Regions from separate parts of the Homo sapiens genome. Here regions 2 and 3 are each linked to region 1. The links are contacts of gene promoters, found by promoter capture Hi-C in blood cells and fetal thymus (Javierre and others, 2016). All regions are on one chromosome and are shown on one strand. Each heading gives the region's core, a stretch centred on a gene start or on the middle of the fragment in contact. The rest is flanking DNA. Distances are from core to core; before and after follow the strand shown. Region 1 holds the start of TTC27 (tetratricopeptide repeat domain 27). Region 2 overlaps LTBP1 (latent transforming growth factor beta binding protein 1). Region 3 holds the start of SPAST (spastin).

Region 1 (2,572 bases), core at 25-2,524:
ACATGATGAAAGCCGTCTCTACTAAAAACACAAAATTAGCCGGGCATGGTGGTGCATGCCTGTAGTCCCAGCTACTTTGGAGGCTGAAGCAGGAGAATCGCTTGAACCGGGGAAGCGGAGGTTGCAGTGAGCCGAGATGGCACCAGTGCACTCCAGCCAGAGCAACAAGAGGGAGACTCCATCCCCCCAAAAAAACAACTTTGCTGCCTCATTTTAGCTCCTCTGCTTACCAACAGTGTGACCTTAAATAAATTACTTAACCAGACCCGGGCGCGGTGGCTCAGGCCTGTAATCCCAGCACTTTGGGAGGCTGAGGCAGGCGAATCATCTGAGGTCAGGAGTTCCAGACCAGCTAGGCCAACATGGTGAAACCTCGACTCTACTAAAAATACAAAATTAGCCGGGCGTGGTGGCGCATGCCTGTAATCCCAGCTACCCTGGAGGCTGAGGCAGGAGAATCACTTGAACCCGGGAGGCGGAGGTTGCAGCGAGCCGAGATCGCGCCATTGCACTCCAGCCTGGGCAAAAAGCAAAACTCCGTCTCAATAAATAAATAAATAAATAAATAAATAAATAAATAAATAGATAAAATAAAATTACTTAACCCAACTGTATTTACAGATCTTCACCGCAAAATGGGATTAAAAATTGAATCTACCTTAAGTATCTACTATAAGCATTAAATGACTGAGTACATGTTAAGGGCTTAGAAAAATAACTGACATTGCCATTGTCATTATTACTGAACCTGGGCGGTAAGAAGTTTTGCGCAAAGAAAGTGAGGACCACGCCCACCATGTCAAAGACTAAACGACCCAAAGCCTCAAGGAATCAGCTAGACTGTGTTAGGGAAAAATGAAGGGAGGGATGAGAATCAGTCGCTGCCATCCCTTTTCCTCACAGTTCCCACGATAGCCTAAGGCCCGGTAGGTGCGCCTCTCACCTGAACCGACGACCCCCTCCTGTTTCCATTGCTGCCGCTCAGCCTCAGTGGGGAATCCCCTCAGAATTGCCAGCTCCGGGGTCCACATCACCCCAGACACCGCTGCAGCCAAAACAGGCTCCCACGAGGGCCACACGGGAGTCAACAAAAGAAAGTGAAAACAGGAGAGTCCAAAGGCGCTGAAATCTAGTGGCGACAGTTACCGTAAATACACCTGCGGCCCTAGAATTCCATGTGCGGATACTACCTCAAGGAGGCGGCCATAACAGCAGCGCGGGGCACCCTGGGAAAAACACGCACGCTCTCTGGTCTGGCTTCCGCCTAGGAGAAGAACCCGAGCTTGAGTAAGGAGCCTGTTGGGTGGTTATGCCCCACCCCGGGGCGGGCAATAGGGGGAGTTGAGGGCGCGGTCGCGCTCAGCCCCGCCCCCAGTGGGACCGCTTCCAAGAACTGTGAACGTGGAAGTGAGTGTGCCTCCCACCGAGGGCTAGGGTTCAAATGCAACTCAAAACGGACGTCTTGGCCAAAGCAGTTTGATTAGAAGGGCTAGAGTTGTGATTCTTAAAGCATTTTGGGTTAGAACGCTCTCGACAACCCGATGAAAACCACAGTCCTTCGCGCAGAGTGCAGGTGGGCCCTTGCTCTCAGCCTAAGGGTACCCTCTCAGGGAATCACAGACCCTCTGACGTGGAGTCGGTGAAGCCCAGGTTGGAACCCCGTCAGCATAGCATGGGTCTTTCGGCGAATGAGCGTGTAAGGAAAGGATCTGGTTTTGACACTGCTCTACATGAATCATGGCCGGGTGGGAAATCTGCCCCTGCCGCTGGTGCAGGGAAGTTTTTGGAACACTGTCGGAACGCTGTAGAAGAGTGATCCCAGGGGTGATCACAAAGAAATTGCAAGGAGACAAACCAGCCTCCGCTGGTACCTTATTTGCACTTCTTTGAATCTTCCTAGCAGCACTCCAAAGAAACAGTTAGAGGGCGGGCGCGGTAGCTCACGCCTGTAATCTCAGCACTTTGGGAGGATGAAGCGGATGGATCACCTGAGGTCAGGAGTTCGAGACCAGCCTGGCCAATATGGTGAAACCCGTCTCTACTAAAAATACAAAAATTAGCCGGACGTAGTGGGGCACCCCTGTAAACCCAGCTACTCGGGACGGTGAGGCGGGGGAATTGCTTGAACCCGGGAGGCGGAGGTTTCAGTGAGCTGAGATGGTGCCACTGCACTCCAGCCTGGGCAATAGGAAAGAGGGAGGGAGGGAGGGAAGAAGGAAGGAAGGGAGGGAGGGAGGGAAGGAGGGAAGGAAAACAGGACTATGGCTTTGTCCCATTGGCTTGACACCTGTACTGAGATATGTCATGTAAGAGCCAGGAGAAAACTGCAGGGTAACTCTGACCACAAGAGCAAAAGCTCTCTGAAAAGAGGCTGACCCGGTACCCAGCTCCAAGGAAGAAGCTAAATAAATGTTAATTCACTTTCTTACTCAGTAAAGAGCCACTCCAGAATGTGAAGGGAGAGGAACTCAGCTCAGCTCATTTCAGCCATTGCCATCAGATACCAAAGGAAGCCGGACCTGACTGTGATTGGAGAAGAGCGGATGCCCTAAAATGTCCTCCCACTGAGAAG
Region 2 (2,572 bases), core at 29-2,528, 770 kb before region 1:
ATGGGCATATGTACAGCTTCCTCAACACTGTGTGTGCTCACTTCCCAAGTGTAAGGAGGGTGCTGTGTGTGCCGGCAGCCCACCCTAAGGGAAGAAGCATGGAAAGGGGCCAGCCTGTAAAATCCTAGCTAGGTCAAGGTTAAACACTGCACTTGGCCTTCAGGTGCCCACTTGGGTCTCTTCCAAGTGAACTTTCCTTTCTTTCCTGCTCTAAAGCCTTTTTAAATCAACTTCCATTTCTGCTCTGAAACTTGCCTGGTCTCTTTTTCTGCCTTATACCCCTCAGTCAAATTCTTCTGAGGAGGCAAGAACTGAGGTTGCTGCAGACCTATATGGATTCGTCACCGGTAACTCAGACACCTTCTATGGGTGACACAAGGACAGCAGTCATACTGGATTAGGGCCATTCCAATGACCTCATTATCCTTAATTACCTCATTAAAGATCCGATCTCCAAATCTAGTCACTTTCTGAAGTATCAGAGGTTAAAATTCCCACATATGAATGTTAGGGGAAACAATTTAGCCCATAACAAGATCTAACAAATTTAATGATTAACTTGTAAAAGACACTACATTAACAGAAGACCACTGGAAAAGATAAAAGTGGGGAGAGTGGGATACAACTTATACACATGTACTCATTGACAATTACTCTCAGGTAGAATTTTTTCTACAAAAATGGTGATTTATTTAACATACAATGGTAGATATATTGGGGATCATCAAATTTTTAAAAATTTTTGTTGGGCTTACTTTACATATTACAATACTAACGTAAGCTTATAAACTCTTCCATTTCAGTGAAGGAAAGGGATCCAATTAACACCTGCTAGCAGCTTGGCTAAGAACGGACATTAAAATCAGACAAAACACTGAAAATATAAAGTACTTTTCTCCAAATGTGTATACAAAGTTTTGGAACAAAATCACTGCCTGCTCCACAGGACAGACAATTTGAATTTCAAAAATGCTCCAGGCCGGGAATTGCATAACCCTGTGTAACAATACTTATAATACAGCTTAACAATATTGTATCGAAGACTTTTTCATTTGAGATTTTTAAAAAACTGAAGTAAAAGAAAAACAGTAGCCAAGGAACTGCACAACCAAAAAATGAAAATTATATAAAATATTTCCACCACTATTTAAATGCCAAATTTAATCAAGCAATAGTAAAAAAACAAAACAACATAATAATACAACCTTCTGTTTAAAATAACAGCACTGTTCCACCTCTCTTCCATTGAATTTTACATATGAACAGACTATATATACTGGTTTTTTAGAGAAATGTCCATTTGGTCTGCCACACCTATCGGGCTCATCCTAAATCCTCTCATTGTCTTCAGAGGACTTGCAATTCCATGCTGTTTCTGTATTTCCAGCCTTCCGGGGTAGGTGCAATGTCTCAAGTATAATACATTTCTCCCTTTTCCTTTACACAGTGCAGAGTATATGGGCTTAGGTTATGTAGATTCTGTTTCACTCCAGGTCACTGTCTTTCTCTAAATTCAAGGCGGTATTCAACGGAGTGCAGTAGTTTGGCTTGTCAGAAGGCACGTAGCCTGGCAGACACAAACACTTGTAGGAACCATCGGTGTTAATGCACTTGGCATTCTTGCAGAGAGACATCCGGTTGTTCAACTCATCGCATTCATTTACATCTGCAATAAGTCAAGCCATGCAGGTAAACAATCTTGGATATTATTCTGTGAGGACACATAACCTGAGGCTTACCTGAGGCCCTTCCCCCGACCACCCCAAGGAAGCTTTCTCGTCATTGCTTCAGTCACAGACAAGACGAAGATGACTTTTTTGAGATCTTAAAGAGGCAGATTATCAGGGAGGTTCTAGAACTTCTTTCACTGTTATCTAGCAAAACATGAGCATTTTGTGAGCTTGACATTTTCTAGTAGAACCTCAAGGAAGTTGGAGGAACTATATTACTTCCAAATTCCTTCCCATAGGTATGGAGGAACTGCTAGATTTGTCAAGAGGAACCAGATACCTACGCAGAGGCCTCTCCATACAGCCTGTCTAAAGCCTTCCATAACATTCACAGACCTCCTTCTACATGAGACCCATTTAGGCTCTCACTCACTTGAAACATCTGTTAAGAAGCTAGGTTACCTATTTTACAGACACACCATGGATTAAAACTAACAAAAGCAAAGTGGGCAAAAGGACTGCTTCAAGATGGAGAAGAGGCCAGGCGTGGTGGCTCACGCCTGTAATCCCAGCACTTTGGGAGGCCAAGGTGGGCGGATCACGAGGTCAGGAGATTGAAACCATCCTGGCTAACACGGTGAAATCCCGTCTCTACTAAAAATACAAAAAAAAAAAAAAAAAAAAATTAGCCGGGTGTGGTGGCGGGTGCCTGTAGTCCCAGCTACTCAGGAGGCTGAGGCAGGAGCATTGCTTGAACCTGGGAGGCAGAAGTTGCAGTGAGTCAAGATCACCCCACTGCACTCCAGCCTGGGCGACAAGAGTAAAACTCCATCTCAAAAAAAAAAAAAAAAAAGAATTGTGGTAAAATACACAGAACATATTTACCATTTTAACCATTTTTA
Region 3 (2,572 bases), core at 42-2,541, 560 kb after region 1:
AACAGGGGGAAAAGTTTTATGCTAAATATAACTTCATTGAAAAAGTATTCAGGAATCGTTGTACTGATAAAATGATTATCTTGATTAAAATGATGCAAATTCAACTGCAGTCATATGCAGCTATTTCTTTCAAAATTGTCACCATTTGTTCTTTTTTTCTGACACTACAATACTCTGCTTTCATTAAAAGCCAGTAAGGCGGCACTGCTTCTTCAATATCAAAACCTTTTGGAAACCTTGGTTCAGAGGAAGCTGCACACTCTTCACAGTGCTAGAAAGGATCAGTGTGGTCACTCTAGGACAAATGTCACTGTCATCAACACGTCTGGGTGTCTCATAGTGACCTGGGTCATGCAGAAGTGTGGGGGAAGGCTGGTGTCTGAAACAAAGTCGACAGCTACAGTGCCCTGAAAGGGGAGAGGTTTTAAGAATACTAGAAGATGAGGCTCCGACCTACGGGAAAGCAGTCTCCCGGGGCATATCAATTCCGGGGGTGCACCGTCCCCTCCCGCAGAAAAGGGACGCAGGTGTTGCCCTCCCCCGGCGACCCCACCGCCTTCTTCCCGGCGCCGCCGCCCCCTCCCCCAGCCCCCTAGTTACCTTTCTCATCCTCATCGATGCGCAGGGCAATGGAGATGTACTCGAAGGCCTGTTTGTGGAAGACTCGGACGCGCTCGGCCTCGCCGCCCGGCACCGGCGCCGGGGCCGAGGCCGAGGCAGGTGCTGGCGCGGCCCCGGAGCTCCTCTTGGCTGCCATGAGGGCGCGGGAGAAGCGCTGGCAGAGCCACACGAAGAGGAGCCCCAGGTGGAAGGCGACCAAACGCAGCAGCGCGAAGCCTACAAACAGCGGGTAGGAGAAATAGTACAGGTTCCGCTTATGCGGCGACTCGGGCGGAGGGGCCGGCCCGGCGGCGGGAGGGGCGGGGGCCAGGCAAGGGGGCGGAGGCCTGGGAGGCACCGGGTTGCTGGCGCCGCCGGAGCCTTTCTTCTTCCCTCGTCCACCCGGAGAATTCATTCACAGCTCTCACTGCCGCCGCCGCCATAACCCGCCTCCCGCAGACCGACGGGAACCAAGCGACGGCGGCAGCCACTGCTACGGCGGGGGCCACAGACCCCCGTGTGCCCGCCGGTCTCAGGAGCTCCGCACTGCCGCACGCTGCCCGCCGGCCCCGCCCCTTTCTCCTTCCTCGGCCAGGAGCACAACCCCTTCTCCTCCTGCAGTCGGTGGCTCGGGCCCCTCCCTTCCTGTCGCTGTCCTCTCCGCCGCCTGGTGGCTCCCAGCGGCGGCCGCGCACGCGCACGTCTTCCCGTGTTTTTCTCCGGCGCGCGCGCGCACGGCGCGTCTTTGTTGACCGGGGCCCCTGTACGCGTGTGCGGCCCCCGCCTCTCGGCTTTCCCACTCAACTACAGTTCCCAATGTGCAGTTCGGCTCACGTCGGCAGCCCTGGAGAGCTCCTGCCAGGAAGCCTTCGTAATCGATCCACGGAAGGGGGAATTGCGGCTTGGGGTCGCTCTGCTGGTTCGCTAGGCTCCTCTCTCAGTGTCGTCGTTTTCTTAGATTTCTTTCATCTTTTTCTGCCAGGCGACCTAAGTCTTCTCCGAAGGATAATTGGCCCATCTCAGAAGCAATGGATATCAATCTGGGAATTAAATTAGCCGGGCGTGGGGGCGCGCGCCTGTAGTCCCAGCTGGTTGGAAGGCTAAGGCCGGAGAATCGCTTGAACTCGGGAGGCAGAGGCTGCAAGTGAGCTGAGATCGCGCCACTGCACTCCAGCCTGGGCGACAGAGCGAGACTCCGTCTCCAGAAAAAATAAAATAAAAATTTAAAATCTGGGAATTATTTGAGAGGAAAGCAATTGTGAAGATAAGAAACTTCAGGTCACTGCAAACAACAGCAACAAAAATGTTAGCTCAGTGTGATGAGATCAACTAACCCAGGGGTTTAACTAAATTAGTGCATATTTAGATGTCTAATATGAAAGATAATTTATTTGAATAAGGGAAATCTTAGGTTTTGCATAGTTACCATCCCATAGTTTACTGAAGAATCTACACTTTTTTTTTAATCTACTCAGCATCCCTTCCTTTGGGAAACTACCTGCTTGTCTCTGCTCCCTGTATTCTAATGAGCTGCAAGCACAGAACCCAGACCGCAAAGGCGGAAGCAAACACTAGGTCAGTCAGATTCTCCTGGGACCTGGAATCTTGGCTGGAGACCCACCGAATAGAAAGTAACTGGAAACGAGTGCTCTTAAGAGCGGGTTTATCAATGCATCACATTGAGCTCCCCCAGAGCTGCTGGGTTCCTGACTGGTCACTTGGTTATGTAATCTATCCAATACACTAATCAGTCTGTTTCTCTGTTTCTCTCTTCCTCTCTCCTTTCCCCCTTCCTTCCTTTCGTCTTTTCCTCTCTCTCCCTCTCTCTCTATCTCCACGTCTTTTTTCTCTTCTCTTTCTCTTTTTACTTGAGTTAGCCATAATTATTTCTTGTTTCCTAAAACTAAGGAAGCCAAACTGATAAAAAGACTCCGTTATTTACAATGTGAGGTTTCCAAATGCCCCATGAGAG

Evidence for each region. The method cuts DNA at HindIII sites, captures the fragments that hold promoters and counts their contacts. A CHiCAGO score of 5 or more calls a contact.
Region 2: a fragment that was not itself captured here is called in contact with the fragment with the promoter of TTC27 in region 1 in 4 of 17 cell types (M2 macrophages, M0 macrophages, naive B cells and 1 more); the score reaches 11.5 in M2 macrophages.
Region 3: the fragment with the promoter of SPAST here is called in contact with the fragment with the promoter of TTC27 in region 1 in 13 of 17 cell types (total CD4 T cells, activated CD4 T cells, naive CD8 T cells and 10 more); the score reaches 13.7 in total CD4 T cells.

Annotation. Positions count from the first base shown.
Region 1 is chr2:32,626,752-32,629,323 of GRCh38, reverse strand. TTC27 (tetratricopeptide repeat domain 27) reads right to left here and starts at 1,274. Exons shown (of 20, transcript NM_017735.5): 1 at 944-1,274. The coding sequence starts at 1,031. LOC124905985 (a long non-coding RNA gene) reads left to right here and starts at 2,546. Exons shown (of 3, transcript XR_007086273.1): 1 at 2,546-2,572. RefSeq lists a silencer at 785-914 and enhancers at 1,165-1,224, 753-1,412, 1,635-1,694, 1,413-2,074. The HindIII fragment of the contact is 6,273 bases long and covers 1-2,572 here.
Region 2 is chr2:33,397,458-33,400,029 of GRCh38, reverse strand. It overlaps LTBP1 (latent transforming growth factor beta binding protein 1), which reads right to left. Exons shown (of 34, transcript NM_206943.4): 34 at 521-1,666. The coding sequence ends at 1,485. Among named protein-coding and RNA genes, the nearest start is that of MIR4430, 20 kb to the left of the region's middle. The HindIII fragment of the contact is 990 bases long and covers 784-1,773 here.
Region 3 is chr2:32,062,275-32,064,846 of GRCh38, reverse strand. It overlaps SPAST (spastin), which reads right to left and starts at 1,291. Exons shown (of 17, transcript NM_014946.4): 1 at 601-1,291. The coding sequence starts at 1,015. RefSeq lists silencers at 428-557, 588-1,007, 1,068-1,207 and enhancers at 579-1,379, 1,428-1,497. The HindIII fragment of the contact is 15,667 bases long and covers 1-2,572 here.